Linked DNA regions of Homo sapiens: all the other regions are linked to region 2. Evidence: promoter capture Hi-C in 16 types of primary human blood cells and fetal thymus (Javierre and others, 2016). All regions are on one chromosome and are shown on one strand. Each heading gives the region's core, a stretch centred on a gene start or on the middle of the fragment in contact. The rest is flanking DNA. Distances are from core to core; before and after follow the strand shown. Region 1 overlaps CCDC92 (coiled-coil domain containing 92). Region 2 holds the start of RAN (RAN, member RAS oncogene family). Region 3 holds the start of TRA-TGC3-2 (tRNA-Ala (anticodon TGC) 3-2).

Region 1 (3,244 bases), core at 277-2,776, 6.9 Mb after region 2:
TTCCCTAGGGGCTTTTGGGATCAGCTGGTTCCCCACTTGGCGTGAATGGCTATTAGGAGGTATCACAGAGGTATAGGAGGGTCTTTCTGAGAGGGACTCCTGGGTATTCCGATGGCAACTATATTCGAGGACTTCTGTACTTCCCTTTTAGCACTGTGGCTTTTGTTTTTTGTTTTCTTATGCTGGCTTCTAGAGTTGTGGACGTAGCAACATCCGCAGACACCTACATGAACCCTAGGAAGATTTTTTAGTAGATTAAAGACCCACCTGCTATCGAAGATGATTCTTAGTCGTGCTTTGCATTTGTATGGCACATTACAGGGAATAAAGCACTCTCGAATTCAATGTGTTTTAAAAGACTCTTTTTAATTATACATGATTTGTATTTCTTTCTTTAACTTTATTTTCTACAATAAACATTGAATCAAGAGGAAAATTACCCTTTTCTAGGAAGGCAAGCAGAAAAGACTTTTTTTAAAGCTGTTTTTAAAAAATGGGATGGTGCCAGTCATCCTTTGGAGAGCCAGCAAATTATGAAGGTGAATCGTTCTTTTACTTGGCTGAAAACATGTTTTAAAAGATACTGAATAAGGCCGGGGGCAGTGGCTCACTCCTGAGGCCGAGGCGGGCAGATCACGAGGTCAAGAGATCAAGACCATCCTGAGCAACATGGTGAAACCCCATCTCTACTAAAAATACAAAAATTAGCTGGTCGTGGTGGCGCAGTAGTCCCAGCTACTCGGGAGGCTGAGGCAGGAGAATCGCTTGAACCCAGGAGGCAGAGGTTGCAGTGAGCCCAGATCACGCCACTGCACTCCAGCCTGGCAACAGATGGAGACTCCGTCTCAAAAAAAAAAAAAAAAAAAAAAAAAACTGAATAAGAGATGATATAAGAGATGATTCTTGTGCTTGCTCCGCATTTTAGTTTGTTTATTTCATTACTCAAACATGACTCAAGTTTCACAGCAAAAAGTCCAGTCATATCCACCTACATTAAGTTGCATTGGATGTTTTTTCAGTATGTCTGCATGGTTTTTAAAATATGCTGGCAGCTGAAGGTAAAACAAAGCCAAGAAGTAGAATTACAGCAAGCCGAAAAGCTTAGGGGAATTGGAGCTTTGTGTTTGAAGAAGAAAGACATGTGCCCTATTTGTATGAAACCAATCTTGAGAATGATGGTTTTATCAGCAATGGGAATAAGGATTTATCTATTATAATAAAGATTCGGCTACTGAGTGTCAATCTAATACATGTATTAAGTGGGTCAATGAGGTGGGGACTCCAGTCTGTGGCTAAGAAGCAGAGCAGAGTTGCCTGTGAACACCAGAGTGCCCAATACACAAGGATTGAAGTGCAGCAAGTCAGTAATGAGGCCGATTGAGTTAAACCAAGATCTGACCTCTCCATTTTAGGAAGAAGAGGAAAAAACAATTCTGAATTAATGTTTGCATGGACTTAACTTTTTAAATGTCTTTTAAAGTAGTTACTCTCTCGTTCTCTAGCAGATGAGTTTGTTTCATGCTTTTAACTTTTTAAACGTCTTTTAAAATAGTTACTCTGTCTTGTTCTCTAGCAGATGAGTTTGTCTCATGCTTTTCACTTTTTAAATGTCTTTTAAAATAGTTACTCTCTCTCATTCTGTAGCAGATGAGTTTGTGTCATGCTTTTGTGTCTCTTACCCATTAGCTGACTTTGGGTGTGATAAGTGACTAAGACTCCTCAAACTTTGAACAAGGAATATACCATTTATTTATGCTGTATGCATGAAGGGAAAAGAGACGAATATCAAGTTTTTCTGGCCAACCAAGAAATAAAACTTTAAAAGTGTTTATTTTTTCAGGAAAAAAAATCACAGATACTACTTAAATATTATTACCAGGACAACAAATTAGCAAATAAGGCAAGTTAGAAAGCAGCATTTTCAAGGTTAAAGGTTGCACTTTAAAGCTTTAACCATGACTTCTGAAGGGATCACACAAACATCTTTAAAGACTTCTTTGTTAATCAGAAAACAGTTTACATGCAAATTTCCACACTGGAGAGCCGACCGAGATCAATACTTTCATGATTATTCCCAATTTACTGCTTTATCAGAAAGAACTTTACTACGAAGCAAGAAGTGTCTACTCTTCTGTGAAGGAGTAAGTTTTCTCCTTGTTTCTGAAATTCTTTATTCTAGCTGAATTCTCAAGACTGAGCAGTGAACTTCCATTGGTTAGCACCAAATAGAGCAAGCCTGAGTAAGCTGCTTATAAAAAGGGGAAAAAAACGACAGAAGAAAACTTTTAATAAATGGAATATGAGGCACATAATACTCTGCTTCTACAAATTTTCTTTTTGTTGCCTCTTTGGCAACACTTAAGATACTAAATTTAGGTCTGCATAAAATCCATTATCCTTTGCTCTTCAGATTTCCTCCCCAGTCCATTTCTAAATGCATCCTGTGCCCTTCTCATTTACTATGCAGGTAAGAGAGTTTATGAGAAGTCATTAAAGCCCATGTTCTTAGGTAACATTGTTTAAGCATTAAACACTACATGTAAATTGTCATTCTCAATATTATTACAATACTGTCTTTCTTAAAGTTGCACATTTTACCTAGAAATCCGTGGCATCATACTCTGAAAAGATCATCTTCGATATAATGCAGAGGACACGTAAAAACACTGGGTTCCCAAGAGAAAGTTCCATCTCTGTCATACATAGCATAATTATCTTAGGCTCTCCATATTTTTCTAATGATAAGTGAACGTAAGAGGTTAGGCTCGTGCCATACCTTAAACATTGAAGGAGGCTTTTTGTAACTCCTTTCTCTTCGGCTGTCACACACATCAACCCAGATGAAAGGCACTGCTAGTGTTTCTGCCTCGGTGGCTAGTAGCGTGGGAGAGCAGATACACTTTTTAAAAATAGCCAAATCTTGCACATTGATAAGAAAGATGGAGAAAGGTTGGAGTTTTTCGCTCAGTTTTGTGTTCCCATAGATAAGAACATAGCAGAAGTTATTAGGTTTGGCCTGTCATTTTCAAGGAAGGTCAGTATCTGATACTGAGTCATCTTTATCTTCTGGTTGAGTCCCTATGACAAGACCAGAACGTTCTAGTAGAATAGAGCAGCAGCTTTCTGGCATTAAGGTACTTGCTCATTGACATGCCCTATTGCTCTCGGGGGAGGAAGGATGTGTAATCCTCCTCAGCCTCTGCAATGTGATTTCAAGTGAGGAATTGCTTTCCATCAATAAAGC
Region 2 (3,121 bases), core at 353-2,852:
TATTTTCTTGATTCCTCTTTTTGGTACAATGAACATTTTCCTTGCAATTTTTAAATCAAACTATTTGAGAAAAATACTCTGCACAACTTAGTACAAACAATTTAACAAGAAATCAGCTAGTCTTGTATAACACTTGTTAAGATCTCCTATCTCCTCTGGTCTAGTATCTGGTGTTTATTGTTTTCTAATACAGTAAAAACATTCATTGATCACCACACCAAAATACATACATGAACCTAAGTTTCCAAATACTGAAACTGCTGTTAACAGCCTATTATTGTTTTAAATATGACTTATAAGTCCCAGTGTAAGTCATAGTTTTTTCTAAAGCATGCCTAGCATGACACAGCATGCAAATGACACAACTTTAATAAAATTTTCTCTGCCACCAAAATGGTGGTCAACTCCCCGAAGTCCACTTGTCTTTTTTTAACCCAAAAATGACACTATTTGTTGGAACAGACCTGATTTTCTATAACCTTGAAGACTGAAGTACACAAAACCTCTCAAAAACCGTTCAGCAAGTTACAAATGCCTACCTTGGATATAATAGCCATCTCTCAGTCCACCGAATTTCTCCTGGCCGGCTGTGTCCCATACATTGAACTTAATAGGTCCTCTGTTGGTGTGGAACACTAGGGGATGAACCTCAACACCCAAGGTGGCTGAAACGGAAACGATGCGATTGAGTGGATGAACTTACCCATTTCTCACATATTTCCACAAGCAAGGTTTTCCAGCACATACCTACATACTTCTTCTCAAATTCACCAGTCAAATGACGTTTCACGAAGGTCGTTTTTCCAGTACCACCATCACCAACCAATACAAGCTGTTGAAAAACACATTTTGGAAGTAAACCCTAAACACTTCACCTCTCAAGATCCCAGAGTCACGGAACTTTAACCACCACAGGCTCACTTAAAACAAAGAATGTGGATGCGGGGCCCCATTACAGCCATCGTGGCCCCAGGAGGAGGGACCCGCGAGTCGCACGCGGTCGGGCTCGGCCGCCTCCCGCCCCGCAGGGTTACCTACTTTGAACTGGACCTGGGGCTCTCCCTGCGCAGCCATCGCGGCGTTCCTGCGGAGGCAGAGGACGGAGGCGAGCGCTCGCGCGGCCCCGCAGCCCATGGCGGCCCCGCTCCCGCGCCCCCAGCGCCCCACGTGCCCGCCCCACAAAGGCCTCCCGCCCGCGGCGCCATGGCGGCCAGGCCTGGGAGCGGGAAGGCGGCGGGCGGGGCCGGCATCCGGGGCGGCGGGGCCCGGGGAACGGCGGCCGGAGGTGTAGGGATGGGAACGGGACTGGGACCGGGACGGGGATGAGAGCGGAGGATGAAACGGGGGTTCGCGGGGGCTAGCGCCGACCCCACGCCCGTCTCCTGCCCCGGCCCGGCCGGGCCCGCACCACCCACCTACTCAGCCGCCCGCTGCCCCTGGGTCCGCCACCCGCCCCGGCCCTGGCCCCGGCTCCGACCCCTATCCCGCCGCCGCCACCCCTGTCCCCGCCCGGCCGTGCCGGGCCCGCCGGGTCGCGATACCTTCCAGAAGCGTCTCCGCGCCCGTCCGACTGAGGCTGGAAAGATGGCGGAAGCGCAATTCAAACGCCGGAGACGCAGCCGACGCCGGCGCGAGAGCAGGGGCGGGGCCGGCGCGGGGCGGGGTTGCAAGGGGCGGGGCAACGGCGCGGCGCCCGCCCACGTGGCCCGCGCGTGCGCGCACGCACGCAACGCGGTTCGGTCGGCCGCTCGGGCGGTCGCTGCGCTTAGGGTGGGGCGGGAGGCGCGGTGGACCGCGTGGGAGGGCGAGCCGGGAGCGCGTACGCAAGCCGGCCGGTGGGGACCGCGTGCGCCGACGCCCCGGGCGGGCTCCCGGGCGCGCATGCGCTGAAAGCGAGGCGGCGCGCCCCTGAGCGGGAGACGTTGGGCGCGGCCCGACGGTCGCGGCTCTCCTGCCTCCCGGGTGGGAGGCGGTACTCGCTCGGGCAGACGTGGTCAGGCACGCGGCTTCCAGGCGCTGGCCAGCCTGTCCTTGTCTGTGCCCCGTGGGGTGGGGGTTCTTGAGGTCCTGGGGCTTAGGGTGGCTCGCGTGCGCGCAGGACGGGTGGGTGACAGAACGAATGAATGAATGAATGGGGTCTAGGCCCGTCCTCCAGAGGCAGCCCGCTGTTCTGTCTCTCCAGATCGTAGCCTTCACGCCCCCAGGACCAGGGCCAGTTGGAGAGCGAGGAACCAGAGAGGGATGCACCCACCCAGAAAAACGGCTACTTATTTTTTTTAAGAGACGGAGTCTCGCTACGTTGCCCAGGCTGGTCTCGAACTCTCAGGCTCGGGCGATCCTCCCGCCTCAGCCTCCCGAGTAGCTGGGACTACAGGCGCGCACCACATCAGGGGTAATTTTTTAAAAATTTTTTTGAGAGACAGAATCTAACTATGTCTCCCAGGCTGGCCTCAGGGGATCCACCCGCCTCGGCCTCCCAAAGCGTCCGGCTTCTCAAAGCGTTTCATAGGTTGGCAGCTTTGGCCGCTGCATGCTACAGACAAAATGATGAAATACTGTTTGCAGTCTGGACGCGTCTACCAGCCCTAGTTACCAACGGGGACGGAATGAGTAAGTGCTCAGCTTCCCAGCCCCCTGTTGGCCTGAAGCTGTAAGAGCCCAAACAAGCTTGAGCTAGAGGGACCCGACTTCCTGGGCGCCCCTGCCGACATGCAGACAGATAAAGGCCCAAATCAGCGCAGTCAAGCGCCTCAGAAGAGTCCACCATGGGGAGAGAGCCGCAGTGACCGAAGAGTCCTCCCTGCAGTCCTGAGCACACTTGCAGGCGAGTCCGCTAGGAACCCCAGTGACGCAAATTAGGCACAAAGCAGGCGACAACCGGCCTGCTGGGAACGCAAGTCCGAGCTCCCCCAGAACCCTCAGGGGAACCCCAAGCACCTCTCAGACGCTGCTGGCGGGAGAGCAGAATCTAACAGTAAAACGGGAATGCCCATTGCTTGTGACCCCGGATTTCCATTTCTAGGGAGAGGCCCCAGAGTTAAACTCATGCCTCACGCATGTGCACAACATTTAATACTGTATAACATTTAAAAGGAATGACGGTCATCTGTTTCAACAGGGT
Region 3 (3,449 bases), core at 816-3,315, 6.0 Mb after region 2:
TCAAAGTGCTGGGATTACAGGCATGAGCCATGGCGCACGGCCATAATAGTTCTTTTGGGAGGAAAAAATGTCTTCCAGCTGATATGCAAACCTCAAAGTCACTGAAGGTTGGTATGGTTTTAAAGGATGAGAAATCAGAGGTTTCTGGGTGAAGGTACAATCAAGCCAATGCCCTTATTTGTTGGAAAGAAACTCGATTTTCCTTCTCTTCTCTTCTGTCTGTGAAGAGGAACATTTAAGAATGGGTCAGTTTACATTTGTTCCTTGGTTCTGGTATCCGCTAGAATTTTAGTTGCAAGGTTATGAAGAGCTAACCTACTTGGGAAACATAAAACAATTTTTTGTTGTTGTGGTGGTTTTGCTAAACTCTAACACTCACTTAAACACACAAAAGTTTAATTTAGAAAATATCCTTGGCTGGGCGCAGTGGCTCACGCCTGTAATCCCAGCACTTTGGGAGGCCAAGGGGTGCAGATCACCTGAGGTCAGGAGTTCGAGACCAGCCTGGCCAACATGCTGAACCCCCCCCCATCTCTACTAAAAATACAGAAATTAGCAGGCGTGGTGGTGCACGCCTGTAGTCCCAGCTACTCGGGAGGCTGAGGCAGGAGAATCGCTTGAACCCAGGAGGCGGAGGTTGCAGTGAGCCCAGATCATGCCACTGCACTCCAGCCTGGGCGACAGAGCAAAACTCTGTCTCAAAACAAACCAACCAACCAAAAACTAAAAGCCTCTCGCACTCCCGTGTGTATTGCAGCTTTATTCATAAGTGCCTAGATGTGTCCGTCAACAGATACATGGATAGAGAAAATGTGTACATACGCAATAGAATACTATTCGACCTTAAAAAAATACAAAACAAAATGAAATCCTGTCATTTTTCCTCTACGAAACAAAAATAAAAACATGGCTAAGTTTGGGCGACATTACATAAAGTGAAATAAACCGGGCACAGAAAGATAAATACTGCATGATCTCACTCACGTGCGGAAGCTGAAATAGTTGGTCTCACAGAGAGAATAGTGGTTACTGCAGGTAGTGAAGGTGGGGGGAGGTGGGATAGCCAAAGGGGGGTTACTGGATACAAAAGTACAGCTGAATAGGAGGAATAAGTTCCAGTGTCCCTATAGAGTGAATACAACAACTTATTGTACGTTTTCAAATAGCTGGAAGCGTGGATTTTTAATGTCTCCCAGCACAGAGAAATGATACATGTTTGAAGGGATGGATGTGGTCATTGCCCTGATTTGAACATTACAAATTGTGTACATAGATCACAACATCACACCACACCTCATAAATGTGCACAATTGTTATGCGTCCAAACAATAATAAAAACCAAAAATAAAAATGAAACACGTGGAAACAGGAAAAACGCCTTTAAGAATAGAGTATAGCAAGGACTTCCAAAAGCAAGTACAGGAAAGGGAGGGGGATGTAGCTCAGTGGTAGAGCGCATGCTTTGCATGTATGAGGCCCCGGGTTCGATCCCCGGCATCTCCATTGTAGTTTTGTTGCTTTCTGTATTCGTTTTGGTCCGTGGTTCTTTATCATTAAAGTGCCATGGATGTGATTATCATAAGCATTGTGATTCCAGGCACTACTTGGAGCTCAGATTCTCACACCAGGTGTGATCTTCCCATTCTGAAATCTCTAATGTTTCAAATGCACATGAGTTAGAAGAGGCTGATGGGAGTAATCAGCAGAAAAGTGTTAAGGCAAAACCTGACTTGATGACTGAAACCACAGCAAAAGTGAGCAGGATGATCATTTGGGGAGTGTACACCACATCTCGTGCCACCATGATTGTACTGCACTGGCCTCGAGGGCTGTTGACGCATTCTTGGCCATCAGAGGGCAAGTGTGTAAGTTGCTGGAAGGTCTGGGCCCCCCTGTTTGCCATCTCACTCCTCCTCTGCACTGCCACGAACCACCTCATTTGCATGGGAGGAACCCAGAAGCAAACTCACATCCCAGCGGGGCTTTGCTCTCTGCTTCCTCAGCAACACGTCTCCACGGCTGTAATGCAAGTGCAATTTACATTTATATTCATACACTGTGTTCCGGGGTGAGCAGGCCTATGCAAACCTACCCCAAAGGCCAAGGGAGCTGAGAGGCCAAAGAAAGGGGTTGACAAACCCAGTTTCTCAGGAAAAAACATTTATTAGGGACTTACCAACAGAAGCCATAGTCTCAGGGTGGTCATCAGAGGATATAAGGTTTGCTGCGCCATAACCCCCGGCCCAGGGCTTCCATACCATAGGGAAGGAATATATGTAGGACAATTGAAGTTGACCCCTCAAGCAAGGCAAGAATGTTATGTGAATCCGCATAAGGGAAGGATTTATGATCTAGGTTGTTCTGATCTAAGGGCAGAATTTATGGTAACAGTAAAGTAGAAATCTTAGAGACCTTCCTGGAAGAGGCATTAATCGGAAGTTATCTTGGTGGATTAGCAACCAAGATGGAGTTGCTTTCACCTCCACTGTGTTTCTGTGTTTTATCACTGAAAGCAAAAGATGGTGGCTCAGGCCTGTAATCCCAGCACTTTGGGAGGCATGAGGCAGGAGAATTGCTTGAGGCCAGGAGTTTGAAAGCAGCCTGGGCAACAAAGGGAGACCTTGGCTCGGAAAGGAAAGGAAAGGAAAGGAAGGGGAAGGGGAGGGAAAGGGGAAGGGGAGGGGAGGGGAGATTGATTTACTTGCATGAATGATCTTTAGGCAAAAATAAATACATAAAAATAAATTATATTTTTTAAAGTTTAACCAGTTCCCAGCTCTCTAAATAATAATAAGAATGAAAGAAGGGATTCGGCTGCATTCTGTGGTACAGTTCTTTGCAATTATAATGAATTCCTCACCTGTCAGCCCCTTTCTTTCATTTGACTTGACTTCATGTTTTAAATGGTAAAAGCGTCTAATCCTAGATCTAGAGCTTTCATTTTTGAGATGAAGAAAATGAAACTTGCGAACTGACTCACCAGTTAGGTGGTGACGCATTGGTGACAGCTTGTTTCTAATGAGCTTCAGGAAAGGTTATTTCTCCCTAAATGTCAACAAGGTTTTAGGGGAAAATCATTGAAGATAATTTCTGAAGTCATCAGGCCTAACACAAAACTTACATGCTTCTGTAACTGCCCAACAGTTTCTCCTTGCCCGCTGCCTAGACAGAGCCCATTTATTAGGACAGGGAAACTGTGATCCGCCCACCTCAGCCTCCCGAAGTGCTGGGATTACAGGCGCAAGCCACCTCGCCCTGCCATAATAGAGAACGTTTAATTCACACACAGCTGGCAGTGTGGGAGACGGGAGTTTTACTATTACTCAAATCAGTCTCCCTGAAAACTCAGGGATTGGAGTTTTGAAGGATAATTTGGTGTGTAGGGAGGTCGGGAAATCGGGAGTACTGATTGGTTGGGTCGGAGATGAAATCACAGGGAGTCGAAGCTG

What was found. Contacts are between HindIII fragments. The CHiCAGO score rates a contact against its expected background, and 5 or more counts as called.
Region 1: a contact is called between a fragment that was not itself captured here and the fragment with the promoter of RAN in region 2, in 1 of 17 cell types (total B cells). The highest score is 5.5, in total B cells.
Region 3: a contact is called between a fragment that was not itself captured here and the fragment with the promoter of RAN in region 2, in 1 of 17 cell types (naive CD8 T cells). The highest score is 5.7, in naive CD8 T cells.

Annotation. Positions count from the first base shown.
Region 1 is chr12:123,967,091-123,970,334 of GRCh38, reverse strand. The region is part of intron 1 of CCDC92 (coiled-coil domain containing 92); the gene reads left to right. Among named protein-coding and RNA genes, the nearest start is that of CCDC92, 4.1 kb to the left of the region's middle. RefSeq lists an enhancer at 1,051-1,552. The HindIII fragment of the contact is 847 bases long and covers 1,103-1,949 here.
Region 2 is chr12:130,870,547-130,873,667 of GRCh38, reverse strand. RAN (RAN, member RAS oncogene family) reads right to left here and starts at 1,602. Exons shown (of 7, transcript NM_006325.5): 1 at 1,542-1,602; 2 at 1,039-1,084; 3 at 748-832; 4 at 540-665. The coding sequence starts at 1,074. RefSeq lists silencers at 1,088-1,297, 1,348-1,487, 1,558-2,017 and enhancers at 1,039-1,800, 2,298-2,377, 1,801-2,562. The HindIII fragment of the contact is 6,850 bases long and covers 1-2,669 here.
Region 3 is chr12:124,919,809-124,923,257 of GRCh38, reverse strand. It overlaps TRA-TGC3-2 (tRNA-Ala (anticodon TGC) 3-2), which reads left to right and starts at 1,432; the gene lies at 1,432-1,503. RefSeq lists enhancers at 1,637-1,956, 1,523-2,201, 2,037-2,226 and a cis regulatory region at 1,811-1,981. The HindIII fragment of the contact is 6,001 bases long and covers 1-3,449 here.